2 separate regions of the Homo sapiens genome follow, and region 2 is linked to region 1. The links are contacts of gene promoters, found by promoter capture Hi-C in blood cells and fetal thymus (Javierre and others, 2016). All regions are on one chromosome and are shown on one strand. Each heading gives the region's core, a stretch centred on a gene start or on the middle of the fragment in contact. The rest is flanking DNA. Distances are from core to core; before and after follow the strand shown. Region 1 holds the start of TTC21B (tetratricopeptide repeat domain 21B). Region 2 holds the start of PPIG (peptidylprolyl isomerase G).

Evidence for each region. The method cuts DNA at HindIII sites, captures the fragments that hold promoters and counts their contacts. A CHiCAGO score of 5 or more calls a contact.
Region 2: the fragment with the promoter of PPIG here is called in contact with the fragment with the promoter of TTC21B in region 1 in 2 of 17 cell types (non-activated CD4 T cells and total CD4 T cells); the score reaches 7.6 in non-activated CD4 T cells.

The regions. Positions count from the first base shown.
Region 1 is chr2:165,951,913-165,956,057 of GRCh38, forward strand. It overlaps TTC21B (tetratricopeptide repeat domain 21B), which reads right to left and starts at 1,864. Exons shown (of 29, transcript NM_024753.5): 1 at 1,773-1,864. The coding sequence starts at 1,793. RefSeq lists a silencer at 1,715-2,114 and an enhancer at 1,879-2,628. The HindIII fragment of the contact is 9,565 bases long and covers 1,479-4,145 here.
Region 2 is chr2:169,582,285-169,586,429 of GRCh38, forward strand. It overlaps PPIG (peptidylprolyl isomerase G), which reads left to right and starts at 2,067. Exons shown (of 14, transcript NM_004792.3): 1 at 2,067-2,206. RefSeq lists an enhancer at 1,983-2,032. The HindIII fragment of the contact is 789 bases long and covers 1,792-2,580 here.

The DNA of each region.
Region 1 (4,145 bases), core at 614-3,113:
ACTAAAATCAAGGGAAAGATTATTGGGGAGGATTTCAGAGCTGACTCTTGAATTGCAAACCCCTCATTCTCCCTCCACACACGTACACGCTCTTCCTATTTCCTTTTCATGATTCTTGAGGAAGGTACAGGAGTTAGGAAGAGGAACTGCAACAACACAGATAACAAGTCATCAATGGTACATTGGGATGGCAGTGGTGATGAAGATGACTAAAAGCCACTCCATACTCTAGAGCAGGGTTTGGCAAACCACACTCTGTGGGCCATATCTGGCTGGCTGGCTGTACAGCCAGTGAACTAAGAATGGTTTTTATATTTTCCAGCTGTCAAGGAAAAAAAAGAAATATTTCATAACATGAAAATTACATGAAAGTCAAATTTCAGTGTTCATAAATAAAGTTTTATTGAAACACAGCCATGCTCATTTAAGTATTGTCTATGGCTGTTTTGAACAAGCCAATTAGATGTGATAGACCATACGGTCCATAAAGTCTAAAATGTGTACTATCTGGCCCTTTGTTGAGAAAGTTTGCTATTCTCTGCTCTGGAGGCTTAAGTGAGACAGAGAGTATTGGATGATGAGGTTGGAGACGAAGGTGGGGTGAAAAGCCTCATATTAAGTACTTGGACTTGAACCTCAAGTCTAAGTAATGAGGAGGCCCATTTTTACATTTTACATTAAAGTGTTTTTATTAAAATGTTCATTTGGGTGGCAGTGCAAATAATACATTTAAGGGAATAAAAAAATGTAAGGATATAGGGGGATAGCTAGAACAGAGGATAATGTAAAACTTCAGGCAGAAAAACAAGACATTTCAGCATTCCCTAACCTCCTACATCGCCAAATTGTCCTCCATCCACTTATCACCATCTCACAGGATACACATTTCATTTACCTACTTGTTGTCTGACTCCTCCTACTCAAATGTAAGCTCCAAGATTGGAAGAGTTTTTCTTGGTTTTATTATTTCAGTGCTTAGAACAGTGCTAGACACATAGGAGGCATTCAGTAAATATTTGTTGAGTCAACTGAATTAGGGTTTTTCCCCAGCATTAATTAGCCTGTAAAATCTGAGAAGGCAGAAACTGTTCAGTTTTGCTCACTGCTATCTCCAGCTTCTAATGGACATACAGTAACCCTTCATAAATATTTGCTGAACGAGTGATTCAGTGAACAAATGAATAGAGAAGACCAACATCCGAAAAGTTATTTTATTTTCAAGCCTCATGTCTTTAACTGTTTTATATCAGCCTTTCTTAAGTTGACCGTCATTAATATTTGCTGAATGAATGAGTCAGTGATAAACAGAGAAGACCATCACCCTAAAATAACGACCCCTCCACTTTTAAGTCTTACGTCTTTAATGGGTTTCATATAATCTTTCTGCGCTCTTTTTACTGTCCAGTGTGGGAGCTGACACTAGTTTGCCTTAAGTCCTTAAAAATCGCACCCGGAGGCGCAGTGTCATAGGTAACCCAAGCTTTCCTAGTAAACATGATACAAAAGTAAACACAACCAACAGCATGGGGACCAGCAATTCAGAAACACCGAGCGGGCGGGCTGCCCAGACCTGGGCTTCCCCAGCAGGGCCCGCGGAGACCGGCCGTGAGCAGAGGCTGCAGGCCCACCCCGCAACCCGAGCAGCCGGGGCACCGCAGGGAAACAGCGGCCTAGCGAAGCCACCCGAGCTCCCTCCGCGCCCCCGGGCCAAAAGGCCGCAAAGGAACTCCGCCCGCCCGCCCGCTCACCCGCTCACCCGCTCACCCGCTCACCTTCAATTCCTGCGAGTCCATGGCTGCCCCGAGGCCGGGCCGCGGGGCTCTGGGGATTGTCTCGCCGCAGCCTAAAGGAAGACGCAGAATTCAGCTCCCCTAGCCTCCCGGAGCGCTCTAGCGCCCCGGGCCCCAGCGGGAGGGGCGGGGTCGCGCCGCGATTGGCTGTCGGAGGGAGAGGCGGGCCTGTGTGGCGGGGATCGTGCTGTAATGGAGCAGGGGCGGCGGGGACCCGGAGGTGAGGGCTGCGAGGGCCGCCCGGGAGGGTCCGGGCTGGGAAAAGGGCCTCCGCCGGAGAGTGCAGCTGGAAAAGGAGGTCACACTGGGAAACGGCTGTCTGAGGACAGTGGGTGGGCGGGCCGAGGAAATGGAATTCAGGAATAAAGGAAACGGAGTATGAAGAAGGGGAAGTCTGTTTCCTGTCACTGGTTGTAAAGGAAGACACCATTTTCTGCACGTTTGTCTGGAGGCGGATTCCCGCAGTGCGGCTCTCAGCAAGGCTCTGCCGGCGCGGGAAAAAGCGGTCAACTTTCACGTGGGCAAGTTGTTTTACGGCCACAAGGTGGCGCAGAAAAAAAAAATCACACGTTCTTAACAGAAATACGGTGCGCTTGGGCCCGTCTTTGCAGGCGTTGCTGCAATCTTTGTTAGAATGTGTGTTCAATTAGCCCTTTTTTACCAGCCCCGATAATAAGAGGGACAAATAAATTAAACTTCCAGAAAATTAGTGTCTTGTTTTCAATGATACTACTGATTTTAAACTGAGAATAAAATGAATCCCAATGCAAATTTTTATGTTTGCACCCCATTAGGCAACTCAATCAGTCACACATAGATTTCTTAAGTCCAGGAAATTAAATGGAAATATAATAGACTAAGATTTTCTATTTCTGCTTAAATAAATATTTAAAATAGTGCATAAGGTCTGAGATTTAAGTGATCTTTGCAGAATCTTTCACGTGGATTCCAAATTTTGATCCTAGTGTTAATTATCTTACTTTAGTTGACATGATACGTAGTTGCCTTTTCCAGATTTTAAGTTTCTTAAGGAGTTTATAAACATTGACTTTTTCCCCATGCCAATAGGTTATGTAAGGACAGTCTTGAGAAAAACGGTAGCTACCATCCTAGGCTTTAAGGTGAAGCAATATTTCTCACCGGTTTCTCTTTAAAGGAATTCACCACGTATTTTCACGAGCAACTTTTTTTTCTTTCCAATATTTATAGTCCAGCTAAATGTCTGTGGTGATGAACAACTGGTGATATCTCTTTGATTTTCAAAGCTGCGGATTAATCCGCACTTGGTATACAGCAAAGAATACCACAGGACCAGGGTGCTCAATGAAGTGTATAATCTTGAACTGTAAACCTTTGGTTATAAGAGAAAAGTTCATCTGTAAGGAAATATCTCAGGATCATGGTTAACAGAACAGATGATCAACCTACCTTTTGGAGATCTTGAAAGTCATATTAATTTAGCCTCGTATTCTCTTCACTGAATTCTGTTCTAAGGTTGAATTATTTAGCACAAAACACCAAGCCTGATGTTTCATAAATGTTTGTTGGATTAAAAGTACTCTGAGATTTGCTTTGACACTCACGGTGACTTGGTGTGCCCTGTGCCCTTACTAGATCTCATGTAAGAAATTTATTTTGGATCTCAGGCCAGGAAAAACTCTTGTCTTTCCTGAAAAATCGATGTGTTCCTTAGCAGTAACATTTTTATCGGCTCACTTTTACTAGCTACAAACTTTTGAGTCTGATATCCATGACCCTTCACCTCATCGTCTTTTCAAGCCTTATCTTCTACCTCCCCTTCAAGGAGCCTTTATTCCGCTCAGTGGGACAAATATTCCTTCTTCTGGTAATGCTTTCCCCTACTTTGTTTTGAGCTCTTTCTTCACCTGAGAAAATCTCCTTCTTCTGAGTTCATTTCAAATTTCATGAAGTCTTTAAGGATCACCATAACTGGATGGGTATAAAAATATCACAGTGTAGTGGCAAGAATACCCTCTTCTGCATCTGAGGTGGAGCTCCTATTACGCTAGCTACTTTTGTGACTTGGGGAAGTAATTTCCCTAAGCCTCATTTTCCTTATTTACTAAAGAAACTAAATGCCTTACAGACATATTAAAACTTCCTGACACATAATAGGCATTGTATAACCAATAGTTTCCATTAAACACGTAGTGCTCTATAGCAGTGGTCCCCAATCATTTTGGCACCAGGGACCAGTTTGGTGGAAGACAATTCACAGAAGATAAATTTTCCATGGACAGGGGTAGGGGAGATGGTTTCGGGTTGAAACTATTCCATCTCAGATCATCAGATTCTTATCTAAGGAGCATACAGCCTAGATCCTTCACATGCACA
Region 2 (4,145 bases), core at 817-3,316, 3.6 Mb after region 1:
CACATATATAGTATATGTATACATACACACACTAGGATAATAAATATATATATAAATATATATAAGGAAACTATAGGATAACAAATGTTGTTTATTATATACACTATACATACAGTATCCTTCCATTTATTTATTTTTATTTAAGTTGTGGGGTACATATGCAGGTTTGTTACAGAGGTAAACTTGTGTAATGGGGGTTTGTTGTACAGAATATTTCATCACCTAGGTATTAAGTCTAGGACCCATTAGTTATTTTTCCTGATCCTCTCCCTCCTCCCACTGTCTACACTCTGATAGGCCCCAGTGTGTATTGTGCCCCTCTATGTCTTCATGTGTTCTCATCATTTAGCTCCCACTTATAAGTGAGAACATGTGGTACTTGGTTTTCTGTTTCTGCATTAGTTTGCTAAGGATAATGGTCTCCAGCTCCATCCATGTTCCTGCGAAGGGCATGAGATCATTCTTTTTCATGGCTGCATAGTATTCCATGGAGTATATGTACCACATTTTCTTTATCAAGTCTACCATTGATGGACATTTAGGTTGACTCCATGTCTTCGCTATTGTGAATAGTGTGGCAATGAACATACATATGTGTATGTCTTTATAACAGAACAACTTATATTCCTTTGGGTATATACCCAGTAATGTGATTGCTGGGTCAAATGGTATTTCTGCCTCTAGGTCTTTGAGGAATCGCCACGCTGTCTTCCACAATAGTTGAATTCATTTAAACTCCCACCAGCACTGTAAAATGTTCCTTTTTCTCCACAACCTCACCAGCACCTGTTATTTTTTGACTTTTTAATAATAGCCATTCTGACTGGTATGAGATAGTATCTCACTGCGGTTTTGATTTGCATTTTTCTGATGATTGGTGGTGTTGAGCTTTTTCATTATGATTGTTGGCTGCAAGTATGTCTTCTTTCGAAAAGCGTTGGCCGGGCGTGGTGGCTCACACCTGTAATCCCGGCACTTTGGGAGGCCAAGGAGGACGGATCACCTGAGGTTGGGAGTTTGAGACCAGCCTGACCTACATGGAGAAACCCTGTCTCTACTAAAAATACAAAAAATTAGCCAGGCCAGTCTGTGGCCCAGGGGTTGGGGACCCCTGTTTTAAGGTATTGCAGAATTGTCCCCTCCACACACAGCGAAGTGTAAATCCGTTTAATCTCTGAACTATCTAAAGATGAATATGCTGCTGCTCTCCTGCAATAAAGGGCAATGACTTAAAAGAGGTGGGGGTGGAGAGGCAGAAATGTCCTCTGTTTTACTGCTGTGTAAAACTGGTCACGCCCCTTAGAAGCACCACCACATGCCTAACTGTTGTTGATAATTAATTTACCTGATGCAAGTGAGTGAAAAATTTAAATGATCATAATTTACGTTGCCTTTAAACGACAGAACAATTTAAGTCCTCTAGTTAGCTAGTTCCTTTAAAACACACCCCACATCCCTACCAGAATCACTGCCCATCCCCCCCCACCCCCCCGCCCAAACAGCAATGGTTATTTATTTCTAACATAATCCGGGGACCCTTGCCCCTTAAAATAATTAAATAATATATGCCATATTTTCTCTAGAAGGCACTAGATTTGGCATCAAAAGACTTGCTTTGGCATTCAAGAACAGTGTGTTTGAGGAGGAGGCGTTTATCTTCCCTGAGCCTCAATTTCTTTATCTGTAAAACAACAAAGAACATCAAAGCTCTTTGTAATTTCTTCCTCTTTCCTCAAATAACACTTTGCTCATTACTGCGTTTTTAGAACTTATATCCTAGCGTTAAGTGGAAGCTTAACTGGAAGCTCCATGAAGGTAGGCCTTCCTTTCTGATAACCTAGCGTAAGATCAATAAATGTTTATTAAATGAGGCACTTTACTTCACAAAGGATATGGCATTTTAACGGTTACAAGCGTTCCCAGTCAACGCATCCACAAAGCATTAGGCCACCTATAAACTAGGAATTTAAAAGGCACCAAAATCCTAGAAGTCCTAGGAGGGCGTGGTGACGCAAGCAGGTGAACGCTGGCCGATGCTGACAACCCACTCCTGACGCGCTTCCGGTGCGACGCTGTCTCTCCATGCCAGGACTGAGTTGTGGGGGAGGGAGGCGGTTAGCGGGCTTTAGCGCCTTTTCTGGCGGCGGTAGATTTGAAGCGCTTCAAAGGACCGGACCCAGAGAAGAGGAAAACTCTACCGGTGCAGGTAAGTGGTATGAGGCTCAAGTTGTTCTGGCGGCGTCATTTCAGCAGTCCCTGCGTACGAAAGCGGGAAGGGCCTGGGAAGAGGGGCGGAGCCGGCGCGGCTGACCGGGTTGGGTTTACCGTCTTTCCCTCGAGGTATCGGGGCTGCTTGGGCCCAGAGGAAGTCCCTGAGGACCGCAGCAGTGCCTTTGCCGCTGTTGCAGAAGGAGAAGGCTTGCAGTCGAGCCCCGGGGCCTGGGGACGGTCCTTCCTCTGCCAGCCCCCGCCCTCCCCACTCAGGCGCACACCTCCCTCACTGACGCATTTTGCCGCACAAGCTGTAACATGGCGGCAGCGACTGCGGCCTGAACTCTAGGGAGCCGGGTTGATTTTTAAAGCTTCAAAATCCTAAGACTCAGCACTGTTGCGGGGTAGGTGGCGGGACTGGTGGGGAAGGGGGAGACAGCCTGACGTCCTGTCAGGCTAGGGTTGGAGAGTGACGGGCGAAGAGCCTGAATCACAGGGATTAAAATTGAAGACTAGCTTTCCTCCTCTTTCGACCTTTTCCTCTCACAGCACAGTGGCTGTCGTGCAGTTAAGTGGCAGAGGCCACTTTGTTAAGCATTTTTCTAAAACTCAAGTCCAGGGTCTTGAGCTCTCGCGAAGTTCCCCCGTGTTTCGGAGGAGCTGTGAGCTGCGCAGGCCTTTTAGGAGGAGATAATTACTCTTTAGGAGGAAGATGATGATTTCGGGGCTCAGTATGCCTGAAGGGGAAGTATGCTAATTTGGTTCTTGGTTAGTCTTTTTTTTTGAGACGGAGTCTCGCTCTGTCGCCTAGGCTGGAATGCAGTGGCGCGATCTTGGCTCACTGCAACCTCCGCCTCCTGGGTTCAAGTGATTCTTCTGCCTCAGCCTCCCAAGTAGCTGGGACTACAGGCACGTGCCACCATGCCCGGCTAATTTTTTGTGTTTTTAGTAGAGACGGGTTTTCACCGTGTTAGCCAGGATGGTCGATCTCCTGACCTCGTGATCCGCCCACCTCGGCCTCCCAAAGTGCTGGGATTACAGGCGAGAGCCACCGCGCACGGCCAGCTCATGTTTAGTCTTAAGGAGCAAAGTCTAGATGTGCTGGCAAGGAGTATGCACAATCGTTTTGGAAATGCTATAAAAGCACCATTTTGTGCATTGATTTTAATTTCTTTCCACGATAGCCCTTTCTGTGTGTAACCAACATTTTGCAGTAGTGAACACAAATACAAAAGTATTTGCTTTTATAGTTTGGTACTAACATAGTTGTCCAAAGAACAATTAGATGTTTTAGAAATTAGGGGGGCCTGATATTAACTTTCAGTAGTTAAAACCAGGAAAAAAGAGTGAGTGTGTGTGTGTGTCGGTCACACACACGTTTTTGTCTTTGTGTATTCCCATTTGGTAACAGGATGGCCGGTAATTGCTACTTTGTAACAATGACGGGTGGGGGGGTGAACATTTTATAAATTTTGAAATCGTGCTATAAAATCCAGAAAAGATACATTTAGAATGGCTGCTTCTCTCCTGTTTTTAATATATCCTGAAAATTTACCCGTTTTAGCACTCCCCTTTTTTTTATGTTAACGAGTTGGGACAGAATTATTTCTGTAACAAATTACATGGTTCTGTGTCTTAAACAAGAGTTCATTGTACATTGTTTGACTATTTCTTTATGATTCAGAATTATTGATGCTCTGAGATCCTATAGGGTCTTGTAGTAGGATTCTGCGCATTTGAATTGTTGGTTTCCTTTTTAAGGCTTTTCTAGGCAGTCAGTTGTCAGGAGTGCTCCTGCTGTCAGGAGTGTATAAGTATGTAAACTTCTTAGGTTAGAAAAATTTGGACTTTCTGGCCCAATTATCTTTCTGAGCTTCAGTTTCTTCACCTACCTGCAAAATGACATTTTGATCTCCACCTTCCATCAACTGTGG